Linked DNA regions of Homo sapiens: region 1 is linked to region 2. The links are contacts of gene promoters, found by promoter capture Hi-C in human tissues and cell types (Jung and others, 2019). All regions are on one chromosome and are shown on one strand. The core of a region is centred on a gene start or on the middle of the fragment in contact, and the rest is flanking DNA. Distances in the headings are between cores, read along the strand shown. Region 1 overlaps SORCS3 (sortilin related VPS10 domain containing receptor 3). Region 2 holds the start of SORCS3 (sortilin related VPS10 domain containing receptor 3).

The links. The method cuts DNA at HindIII sites, captures the fragments that hold promoters and counts their contacts. A contact is called where the count stands out against the background at its distance.
Region 1: a fragment that was not itself captured here is called in contact with the fragment with the promoter of SORCS3 in region 2 in 1 of the 25 tissues and cell types used here (spleen).

Annotation. Positions count from the first base shown.
Region 1 is chr10:104,773,494-104,779,847 of GRCh38, reverse strand. The region is part of intron 1 of SORCS3 (sortilin related VPS10 domain containing receptor 3); the gene reads right to left. Among named protein-coding and RNA genes, the nearest start is that of SORCS3-AS1, 110 kb to the right of the region's middle. The HindIII fragment of the contact is 4,352 bases long and covers 1-3,526 here.
Region 2 is chr10:104,639,554-104,645,890 of GRCh38, reverse strand. It overlaps SORCS3 (sortilin related VPS10 domain containing receptor 3), which reads right to left and starts at 4,601. Exons shown (of 27, transcript NM_014978.3): 1 at 3,937-4,601. The coding sequence starts at 4,563. The HindIII fragment of the contact is 5,425 bases long and covers 2,050-6,337 here.

The sequences.
Region 1 (6,354 bases), core at 101-2,600, 140 kb before region 2:
GTGAGGCAGGGCAGAGTAGAGACTTGCGTGGTTAGTGGAGATGGGGAATGAAGAGGCCCTCACCTGCCATCCTCATAGTCACCGGGAGGTACAGGCAGCTCTGGGAATATGTTGATCAGCAGCAGAAGCCACTGCACCACGTGGAAAAGGAGAGGGCAGGAGACCAGGTGCAGGATCAACATCTAAGGGGCCAATGGATCACTGGGCAGGAGAGAAGTCATTGTTTCCAGGGCACCAAGCTGTCTTTACAAGGCATGAACTGCATACTTCAGGGGCCGGCAGCCTTCACACTTCCTCCGTGGAGTCCCCCTGGATGTCCACACTGCAAGTCCTGGTGTGGAAGATCTTCTTACTCTCAACATTTTCTCTCGTATATTTTCATTTGTTCCTTGCTGCAAATTCCCTGGCCTTTTTCAGTTGTGTGTACGTGTCCTCTCATCAGTCAGGTGGTAGGTGTCCAACTTCCTTGTGTCACTCTGCAATGCCTGGCACAGAGCTCAGCATCTCTGGATATGAGGCCAGAGGAAGAGTATTCCTTTCCTACGGCTGCTACAACAAAAGACCACAGCATGGAGCTTAAAGACAACGCAACCTTATTTTCTTCCAGTTCTAGAAGTCAAAAGTCCAGAATGGGTCTTGCAGAGAACTAACATCGAGATGTCAGCAAGGCTGGCTCTGTCTGGAGGCTCCAGGGAAGCATTCCTTTCTTTGCCTATTCTCAATTCTGGAGGCTGGTGACATTCCTTGACTCATGATTCCTTCCTTGTGCCACCCAATGACTGGCTTCCATTGTTAAATCTTCTGTCTCCTCTCATCACTTGCCTCCCCTTATGAAGAACCCTGTGATTAGATCAGGCCCACACAGATAATCCAAAATGATCCCCCCTCAAGATCCTTGGCTTAATCATGTATGCAAAGTCCCTTTTGCCACATAGGGTAACATCCACAGGAAGTCCCTTTTGCCACATAGGGTAACATCCACAGGTTCCAGGAGTGGAGATGTGGACCTTTTGCAGGTCCACATCTGTAAGGCCAGTAATGCCTGGAGATGTGCATTACTCAGCCTACCACAGGCCAAGTACCTACAATATGCCCCAGCTATAAAACAAGGTTGCTGTGAAGCTAAGGAGAAAAGATATTATAAAAGCATTTAACACGGTGCCTGGGATATTAGTGGTTGACGACCGTTGGGTCTCATTATTATTGTTAACTTAACACACTACCAGACTCATCTGACAGGAATGAACACCTACTGCCAACCAGGAACTGAGCTGGTGCTTTGATGCATGTTATCTCATTGTATGCTCACTGCAAACCATGAAGTGGATGTGATCATTCCTCTTTGAGAATGAGACAATGCAGGCTGGAAGAATAAGTGACTTGCCCAAGGTCACACAGTTGATAAATGACAGAGCTGACATTAAAATCCAGATTTATCTGAATAGGCAAATAACAAATGTTCAACCAACACTGCACCTGAATCCATTATTTCCCCAAATAGGCCCAATGTCAGAAGCACCTTTGAAGCAGAGTAACAATACCAATTCCCAGGCCCACCCCTGGAGATGCATGTATGGAACCGGGCCTAGAATTTGTTAATTGGTATAGAATGGTTGTACAAACTTTGAGGGTACATATGACATCTTGATACATGTATACAATGATCAAATCAGGGTAATTGGGATATCCATCGTCTAAGACATTTGTCCTTTTGTGTTGGCAACACTCCAATTCTTCTCTTCTAGCTACTTTGAAATATACCATATATTACTGTTAACTATAATTTCCCTGTTGTACAAATGCTAGATCTTATTCCTTCTATCTAACTGTATTTTCATACTCAATAATGAGCTTACCTTCAACCCTCCCTCCCCTAGCCCTTCCCAGTCTCTGGTAACCACCATTTCACTCTCTACCTCTATGAGATATAATCTCACCCCAGTAAAAATTGATACTTTTTTAACAAGCTATCTGTATAACTCAAATGCGTGGGCAAGTTTGTAAAACAGGAACCTAATCCATCACCCTTAAAATGATATCAGTACCCTCACTGCAGTCCCACTGAGCCCTAATCTCTTTCAAATACACTACCCCCGACACACACTCACACACAAAATCAGGCAGTTTTGCAACAGCAGCATTATTGGCATTTAGGGGCTGATAACTTTGTTGTGAGGGTTGTCCTGTGCATTGCAGGATGTGCAGCAGCATCCCTGGCCTCTAACCACTAGATGCCAGTAGCACTCTCCCCCCAGTTGTGACAAATGTCTTCAGACATTTCTGAATATCCCCTGCAAGGCAAAATTTGCCCCTGGTGAAAAACCACCCAGATGGGAGGTAGGAAAGAATAGGTTGCGAGGGCAAAGGCATTGCCTGCTGCAGTCCCAGTCTTTGCTCTGCTCACACCCCTCACTGAGCTACAGCAGGTTGGAATGGGGCAGTGGGAAGTGCACAGCCTGGGAATTAAGCATGTTGGGGTCTCATCCCCCTTGCCTGCAGCTCAGTGTGTAACTGTGCAGCTACCCCCGGAGGACAGCCAGGTTCTCATTCACTCATGCACTTGTCAGTAAACTGTGAGCAGGGTCTGAATTTCCCTTGTCTGGGTATCGGTTTCCTTATTTGCAAAATGATGACATTAAACAGGAATATCTTCAGAGTCACCTCAAGTTCCAGGTTCACTATTTTCCAGCCAACTCTCCCAACTATGAGAAGGTGAGGCCAAAAGGATGCTTAATTCTGGGGTCCCAGAAGGAGGGAATAGCCACAGATACCTGCAGCGCAAGAGGTACCACTGTGACCTGGGCATGTAGGATGCCCCCAAAGCCTCCACCCCCCACCACCCCCATCTCCCTCACTCTAGAAGCAACTGTATCTCCCCCTTATGTACCTTTTTTGTTCTCTCTGCCTGTCTGCCTGTCATCACATAACAAAGTAAAACTATGAGGGGCTTTGTGAGGTTTTTTTTTTTTTTTCCCTGCTGCTGAATAAGCTTGGGTACTTGTATTTTTATTAAAGCTGATACCGTTAGTGAAGATAATACAGAAAAGTTCTCTGAGTATTACAATTTTTCCTGACCCAGGTTCTTGGAGAAGGATGAGCTGATACAGCGATCTTGGGTAAAAGACTAAAGAAAAGGCTGTGGGTGGCTCTCGGAGGGGGCCATGCAGTATGTCTGGATTCTGGACTGCCCTTTAAGAAAAGATAAATAGACAATCTTCCTTGCAAACTATATATTTGATGTAATTATTTGGCAAGGGTGCTCTACACAGAACAGACATTTAATTCCATTTGAAATTAATGGTATTTCACTAGCAGAGTGTGACCTGAAAAAGAAATTTTTTAAAGCCAACAACAAAAACACCCAAATATTAAGCATAAATGTCTTGTCCCATTTTCCAAAGGCAAATGTAATTGACTTTTAGATGAGGGCTTCCCGCCAGCCCCGACTACCCTTGCAATGTCTGGCAACATTTGAGCTGGCCTAGCAGAAAGAACTCAAAATACACATAAGAATTCCCCAACCTTGGGGAGCTTTAGGGAATAGCTCTGTGACCTGAAGGGAGATGTTAGTAAATAGCTCAGAGCTTGCTTCTTCCAGAAAACCTCCCCAGACCACCATGGACCCACAGAAACTCTTTCTGTAGATATCTTCATACAACCACATGTTCCTCACCTCCAGGTGGAATATTAGTACCTTTCACCTCCCTCCCCCTGCCCAGTGTACCCTCTCCCAGCGTCCTTAGCACCTATAATACTTTGCTGAGTATACTTGCCTACATGTCTGTCTCCCCAGTCACACTGGAATCTTCCAGAGGCAAATACCAGGTTCATTCACTTCTAGACCCTTAGTGCTCAACACCAACAAGTGTTCAATTTCTGCCTCTTTAATAAAAGAATAGGAAAGAAATATGGGCAGGAGGGAAAAGTTCACATCATCAAGCACTTGCCAGGGGTCAGATGTAGCTATGCCTCTCTGCTTCTACCTTCTTGCTATTCAAGTAAGCATGCTTTGTCTTCCAGAAAAGCAAGAAACCCCTGGCTTTCAAGGGCTGTTTCTTCTAAGCTTTAGAATCCCACCCCCATGGTGTGAGTCCAGCTCTAGAAACATAAATGCCAATGATGTTCTGTCTGGAGAATTTCAACTATGGTGCTGCCAAGAGGGACTGTCTAAATGCCATCCCCAAACTCAAATCCGTGCTGGAGTCTGTCATTCTGTCTTTATAGAACGGCCCCAGCTGCACTGTATTTTTCTGTCCTGATTGTCAACAGGAGCACACTGGCCATTGGCTTTCTAGTTCAGTACTCTGTGAGCTGAACATATCATCTCTTATGCACCAAATCATCATTTTCTTACTGCCAGTACTGATCATCATCACTGGGTGTCTGTGTGCCTAAAGTCAACAGATGTCTTGCAAGCAGGAAGCCCTTGACTTATATACATCTTTGCATTCCTAACACCTAACAAAGACTTGGCATGGAGTGTAGAAAAAGAAATAACACTTACTGAGCACTTACTTGCTTCAAACACTGTGCTGTGTGCTCTGCAAACATTCTCTCATTTATTCCTCAATGAAGAGGCTCTGTGCCTTCACCTATAAAATACAGGTGAAGAAACTAACACTCAGAGAACTTAAATTGCTGTGTGCCCAAGGCCAAAGCTAACTAACAGCAAATCTCAGACTGAAACTCAGGTTTCCAACTGCAAATCCCATGTTGCATACCATATTTCATCCCAAGGGTGAACACTCAATAAATGCTTGAGTTAAACTGAATTCCCAGAACACTCCAAAACTGAACACACACACATCCCAGGCTCCTCATAGCTTACAGATGCTTGGTAAAATTATTCTTGACTAACAAGAAATAATTAGAGTCTCTGGAGTACAGTCCATGAGAAATATGTCCTTGGGAATTAGAACATAAAACAAGCCTAAATAGGAATGTCTCAGCTCGTTGGTGAAGTTCATAAAATCACAGAATCTCAGTGCTGAGAGGGACTCTGGAAATCATCTAGTTCAAGCCCATCCTTTCACTAGAGAGGTAAACTAAGGTGCAGATGGAAAATGACTTGGTCAAGTTTGCACGTCAAGTTTTATCAATGACAGGGCCAGATTCCACACTGATCACTCCATGACCCCTTTTTCTTTTCAGATTCCAGTTCTAAATGTCCTGGGTGTTATTTCTCACTACCTGCAGCCCTCAGAAACAAGGCTCGAAGAGGAACTCCTGGTCAAATCTATCTTTCTTGTCAGGTAATTGGGAGTCATGGCCACAGACAGAAGCTGCCATGTCATCTCAACAATTAATCACCCGCGAAAGCCATTTCCCACCTCGTTTTCTCCACTGCCAGAAATATTATCCTTAAGTAATCAACACATGGCAGACACCATGCAAGGGACAACACTGCTTCCCCTTTCCCCCGGGGAAATGGCAGCGTCGACACAGGTTGCAGAGAAAGAAGGGGCTGTGGTGCAGCTGAATACCTCTGAGGCATGGGGATTAACAACATGGCCTTGCAAAGTTGAGTCATGAATCTCAGAGAGCCTCTAGAAGGAGGAAAGCCCTCTTCCTGCTGTCCCAGGGAAGGGCTGGGATAGAACATTCAGGCAAAAGTAAAGACTGATGTCCCACTGACAGCTGCGAGATTTGGGGTAGGAAGTCAGGGGTGATGACTGCAAGTAAACAGGATATGCACAATTTATGTTTTATAGGAAGGCATGTATCCCATCTTCATCCAGAAAGGATGGGAGATGGCTTGTGAAATTAAACACAACAGAGAATATTACACTTTTTAAGGTAAAATTTAAAACAATACTCAAAAACAATCCAGAAGGAACAGAGGATAGGTGCAGAATCCCCTGGAATGGTGCTAAATGCAAATTCTGATTCAGTAGATAGGAATAGGGTGGGAGAGTCTACCTTTCCAACAAGCTCCCAGGTGATGCTGACACTGCTGGGTTTTGGACCACACATTGAGCAACAAATATCTCAGAGACCTGCACTGTCCAGTTCTTGAGGACACTTGAATAACAGAGGTGGAGGAAACCAGCCTGGACTGATTCTGCTGACCTAAGCTGGGGCTTCTAGTTTGAGCAGTTCTTATCACTTCTTTCTCATGTACATCCTTTCACATATATCCCAATGTCTCATTTGGTAGATGAGGAAACTGAAGCTCAGAGAAGTTGACTAACTTTCCCAACAACACACAGCAGTGTCTGCCTCCCTATTCTGAGTTCCTCCTCCTCCACCCTGCTGCCTTCTGCTCTGTATGCTTAGCCCTGCGTCAGCTGGCAGTGGTGTGCTGGTAAATGTTTAAACACCAGCTCACTGAAAGGAAAAATAGAAGAGCCCAGA
Region 2 (6,337 bases), core at 3,352-5,851:
AAAGCTATTTGAAAAATCTGTTTGGGAGCCACAATTAGATGATCCAGTGAGTGAAATACAATTAATCTGATCAAATCTGTCACTATTTTGCACATTAGGAGTAAATATTTTAGAACACAGTCCAGCTGAATTAGTTAAGGGTAGGAAATCCTGCCTGGGAGAATCTGTGTTACACCTACTAGTACGCTCAGGGCAGGGTGATCTGGGAGGGCCTAGAAATATCAGCATCTCCCCATTTCTCTTCACCAAGATGCAGTGTTGGGCCCATTAATTGAGAACTACCTGGCAAGTATTCCAAGCAGATACACTGCAGGGGCAGCAGCCTGCAAATCGCTGCCACTTCGAGTGCGCTGCTGGAAGGAAATGAAGACCAATGTGAGGGCAGATGCAGTGTTTTCACCTTGGCACCAGGAATGGGGGCCCCATGAAGGGTTAATCCAAGAAGGAGGGGGTGTGGAGAAGTGGACTGTGCCTTCACAACTTTCCACTCTCCAGAGCCATTTGCCAACTCACTGAGCAAGCAGGGAGGCTTCTTCTTTCATTTGAAGGAAAAGGACAGAATAATGTGTTTTTCTGTTTCCCTGTAAGCCACGGGGACTGGGCTCCCTCTGGGTGTTTTTGAAACACTCTCTAACCCATTAATCACCAGGATTCCAGCTGGAGGCAACTGGAGAGAAAAAATAGCAAATCGCTCCTCCAGAGTAAAGGGTCCAAGGCCAAGTCCACTCACTTTCCAGCCAGAGCACCTGGCAGGCAACATGGTCAAGAGGTGGTACCCAGATCCCATGCCCTCCTGATTCCTTTGCCCAAAGCCAGTTGCACTCCTTCTCCTTTGTCCCCAAAGCCATCTCTTCTCAGTCCTGGGACCAAGGCAAATACCCAGCCCAAGCCTTGGTCAAGGGTCTCCTCCTGCACCCTCAACCACCTGGGGCACACACTGGACCAATGGGGTGGGCTGAAGGCCCTTCTCCTTCATGTCCCACCCTGCATCCCTGACTGTAAACTCAGTCAGAATGGAGTTCAATTTTCAATTTCATAGGGTTACTGAAAACGCTCCCCAAAAGGGAACTCATATCAAGCAATCAGGTGCATCAGAGACACTTGGAAGAAGAGCAAGGAAACCCTCATTGTGTTAAAAATTAAACTGGTGGCCTCCTGAATAAGGACATGTCTAATACTCCAGAAGCCAGAATAAAAGATAAAATTCTCTTTCCACGTCATAAGAGCCTGGAGCTAGGCCCCATGTTCTCTGTTTTACGGACATCTCCCTCCACTTTGAAACCAATGATGAAGGAATCTTCCCAAAGTGTCCTCATCCCCATCACTCTTCACCCTGGCTTTTATTTACAACACCTTCTTTTCCTGCCATCAGGAAAGGGGGACAGGAGAAAAACCAGCTGGGTCAATGTTGCTGAAACTGGTTTCCCAGTGACTCTCCAGGAGATTTCCTTAAAGTCTCAAAGACAGGGCCATGTGAGTATGCTTCTCCATCTTCTTTACACAGGCTCACAGACCTGATAATCAAGGATCTCTCTCTCGTATTGCCTACAAAATGTGGTCAGAAGAGACAGGTCCAGCCTAGGGGCTAAAGAGGCAGTTATTCCCCAGATTGGAGAGAGAGGACAGTGCGTGGCCCTACATCCACCTGTGGTGCTCTTGCATGGGCAGTAAGGCTGGCCAAGAGCACAACCAATAAGTCCCTGTGGGCTGTTCATACATTGTCCAATCTCATTGCTGTCACCAAGGTCTCCAAGCCCAACTGCTCCAGTCCCCAAGCCCCTTTGGCCGTCATTTGACTGAAGAGTCATTTCCCCAGGGAGCACGGGCCAGACCTGCCCCTCACCTCTTCTGCTGCACAACTGCTTTGAAGATGAGCAAAGAAGGCCATGCACAGTTAACTGCTATTTGCAGGAAGCATTTTCTCTAAAGTCCCATCTTCAGAGGCTTTGTAAATACTCAAAAATAATCCTTAAAATAAAAGCAGAGACACAGAAAAACTCTTCAGGGAGGGTGAATTTATATTGTCCTAATGTGGCAGTAGGGAAGCCACAGATGTAAAGACATTGCATCCTCCTCTTCCTAGGATATATTTACTTCCACACATCCTATCCATCCATCCATCCTCCTCACCAAGTAAGAACCCCAACACACACACACACACACACACACACACACACACACCCTAATTATCAAACTAAAATGAAGTTGGGATTCACAACCCCTGCTGTCAGAGAATCAACCCTGAGGTCAGAGAATCTCCCCCCAGCACACACATATCCAAGTCCTCTTGGAAGGGACTTGGAAGTCTTCAATCACCCAGCCCTGCAAAGGCACACATTGTCCACCCCTCTCGCCAGAGCTGTCAGCCCGAGGCTACGGGGGTCTTCATCCCAGGCAGATGAAGCCCGCCATCGCGCTGCTGCGAAGCTGGACTTCACTGGTCCTTCAAGACCAGCATGGGCTACCCAGGCTGGGCTGCCCGCGCTGTGCATCATTAGAAACCAAGAAATCTGCACTTTGGTATTGCTTATGTACTACCTTCTGCGGACCCCTCGCTTTCCTCTTATTAGATACCCAATCCTGGACATCCCAGGCTCTGTTAAAATAAGGCAAAAATTTCCCAGAGAAATTTTGTCAAACACCGGTCATGAAGAGAAATACAAAACGGCAGGGAGTTGCGGGGTGAGTTCCTATCAAATCAGTTCCCCAAGGCTGCTTGTACAGACACCCGTCATCCTCCGCCTGGAGCGTGCACCCTACCCAACGCCAGGTTCTGATCTGAACCATGGAGCCAGAGAAGAGGAAAGGATTTTCCAAATCTGGCTCTAGTAGGGACCGCGGGAGGGAGGGAAGTCGGGGAGATGGTGGGAACCTGTCCCCCGCCTTTTCTTTGCTTGGCTGCACAGCGCTGGGTGCCGGCGAGGTAGGGGGAGCCCCTCCGGGCACGCGCTGCGGGCCGCTGCAGCTGCCAGGCAGGCGCGATGCTCAGTCGGGCGCCCAGTTCGGAATGCCGGAGTAGGCCAGACCGGGCTCAACGACGCCACCTCTCGGTACATCCTTGTCCAGGAGAACCCGGTGGCGGGGAAAAGCGGGTGGAGAGGTGTGCAGGAAGCTCAGGCACCCAACTCCGCTCAGGGAGCCGTTTGTGGCGCAGGACGCAATGGTGAAGTCGAGAGTTTTCTGCTGAGCGACTTCCGTGTGCCTGTGCGTGCGTGAGGGCGAGCGGTGTGGCATGAGCGCTGGATGGGTGTGGAATTTCGCTTCACGCTTTAAACTTTTTTTTACGGCCTCTGCTACGGCTTTCCAGGGCCGCTCCCTGGACTTTGAAGGAGGAACCGGGGTTACCTGAAGGCCAAGGCTGGGGGCCGACTTGGCCGAGCCTCCCTCTTGGGCTGGAGGACTGCGCGCCTGGAGCGGATAGCAGCGACCCCGAGGCGAGCAGGAGGCTGGGAGTCCGAATGGCCTTCCGGGTTCCCTTTCGCGTGACGGGAGGGGGGGTGGGGGTGGGGTGGGGGTAGGGGGAGCCCGGCAGCCGCAGGAATCGGTCTGTTCAGCGGCTCCCGCCCCAAGTCAGCCCTTTTTCTCATCCAAGAATTCAAGCACCCCGCAAACAGGAAAACTGACCCTCCAAGCCAAGTATTGGAGAAAGTGAGCACAGATCCCTCCCCCACTCATCTTTAAGAAGCCCCTTCCTCCACTCCCCTCCCGGCGGCCGAAGCCTAGGGTCTCCAGTAAACAAACACACACAGCGTCTAACAACAAACTCCGTTAACCTGTTGGGGGCGTGGGGGGAATCGGACAAACCTGTTATCTCGAAAAGTCGAGGCGTCCCCCGCCTCGACCCCCGAGCAACTATCTGTCCCTCGCTCCCACCCACCCCCCCATTCCCCTTCGGTGTCAGGAAACAGGCGGACCCGCCGCCGGGTGGGTACTCACGCTGCTGTTGTGTCCCGACCAGTGCACCATGGCTTGGTTGTGGGCCGAGTCCCCGGTCAGCGCGAAGGAGGTGCTGGGCAGCCGGAGGTCTTCAGCCGCCGACCCCCCAGCCCGCGGCGCCTTCACCTCCTCCCGGGAACCCTTAGCAAGGGGACGGCTTCCTCTGGAACCATCGGCCGGAGCAGTGGCCCAGGCGTCCCCGCGTTCCTGGGTGATTGGGGGCTGCGCCCGGCGACTCCTCCTCGCGCCGCCAAGCTTGGCAGGAGCTGGGATGCCCCGGCCCCGCCGCTCGCCTGCCGGTGATGTCCCTCCGGCTTCCACCTGCATCTCACCGCCTCTGCCGCCGCCCTGCTGGGGCAGCAGCTCTGGTCCGGCCCGGCGCCCCAGCACGGCGGCTCTCCGCGCCGACGCCAGCTCCTCCGGCCACTGGCTGGCCACTGCCCGCGGCGAGAGTGGAGACAACGCCGGTGGCCGCGAAGCCGGGGCCGCCGGGCGTCCGGGACCGCCTGTCGCGTCCCAAGTGATCTCGGCGCCGGCCAGGACCCACGTCGACAAGAGTAGGAGCCCCGTCCGGACAAGCGGCGCCCCCGGCCTGCCTGCGGGGCGCTCCGTGCGCGCCGCCTCCATCCCGCTGCGGCTACCGCGGCTCGGGCTGCCGAGTGTGTGGCGCCCGCCGAGGTGCGGGTCCGGCGCGGGGGGTGTGCGCGCGCCGGCGAGCGAGCGAGCGTGTGTGTGTAGGGGGAGTGGGGAGGGGGCGGCCGGGAAGGAGGTGGCTCCGGCTGGCGCGCCTCGCCGGTCCTCTCCACTCTTCCCTCCTAGCTCCCGCTCGCCCGTTCTCTTGTCCAGAGGGTGATTCCAAACCCGAGGAAAATTAATAATTGCCCCTTCGGTGCTTTCTTTCTTAAAATCAGATTCCCCCCAATCCTCCCCACTGAGCTCCTCCAGAAATTTGGTAAAAAGGAGTAATCAAAGGTAATAAGAAAATCTTCTTAAAATATGAAAATCAAGCCGGATCCAGGAGGGGCCGGCAATAGACCCCAATCCCGAGTCTCTCCGAAATCCAGCCTCCAACGTGCTCCCGGCGAAGAGTTGGGAGCCGCTTCTGGACGCGTTTGGGGGTTTACTCTTCGGGCCTGTTATGAGGGGCGGGAGATGGCGCGCGGGGAGGGTACAGGGGTCTCGGGGGAGAAGGAGGAGGAGTTGTGTGCTCAACGCCAACTGTTCGCGTTCTAGAGCCGAGAGGGAGCCAGGTGCCTCCGCGCGGGGAGGCTGCGCACGGAAGCCAAGCGCGGGATGCACCCTGGACTCTGCTCGCCGCTCCCTGGCCCGGCCGGCTCCCGGCCAAACCCCGCCACCCAAGGCCTGCGCCCCCGCGCGGGGGCGTGGGGAATGCGTGCGTGCGCGTGCGTGCGCGCAGGCAGGCGGGCGTGAGGCGAGGGGTTCGCAGGGGGCCGGCGGGCAGACCGGGCGCTGCCGCGTGGGGGCACCTGGCTGAGCCGGGCCGGGAGCGCGGCTGGGTGTGAGGGGGCGCGCGGTTCCGTGCGTGCGCGTTTGCACGAGCATGTGTGCACGTTAGTGTGAGCGATGGCAAGTGGGGCGGGGGCGGGAGGTGTGCGCTCGGCTTTTGGTCGCGTGCGGATCACGCACGGGCTGTGTTTGCATTTCCAGGAGCCTGCGAGTGGTCAAAGAGGCAATGCTGAGAACTAGGCAGGCCGCTCTCGGCAGCCCCCTCCTCTTGGCGCCCCGAGCACCCACGGCCCCCACTACAAGCGGTTAGAACCTGATAAAGCCTCCTAGGGGATGAGGGAAAAGAGGCGGAAGGCCCCGGTGGGATCGGGGACTTGCCAGATCTTCTCGGTTGAGGGATTCTCCTTGCCCCGACCTCCCGGCCAGAGGTGGGGCGAGAGAGTAGTCGAGATGTCTGTTCTTCCAGGGAGGATCCAGACCTCATTTTGCTGCCTAGGATTTTGAGGTCGTGCCCTCACTCTCCCCAGTCCGTTTCTGAACGGACTCAATTGTTTCAAAGTGTCGGCCGCCAGTTAAGAGGGTACTCAGGCGGGAGCCGCGTGGGCTTATCTGGTCCCCAATCCGCTACTGCAGGAGTGTAGCCTGCGCGCTTGGTGCAGCTGAGATCCTTCGTGACCGTAGGAAGAAGGAGACTTCAGGTGGGCTGAAGGGAAATGAGCTAAACCCACAGACGACCTCGAGCTGCGGTTTACAGGCCCCAGGACATGTGGTGTAGCTCGCCGCCTCCGAGAAGCCCCTGGGATTCTAGGGGTTGAAAAGTCTGAGACTAGAGGAGCTAGAGGAGGAGCTATTAAGAAAGGAGGAGGCAGGAGGGAGGAGGCTTAGGGAGAGAGAGACAGCCTCCAGCCCTGCTCCTCCCCTTCGGGAGTAGATA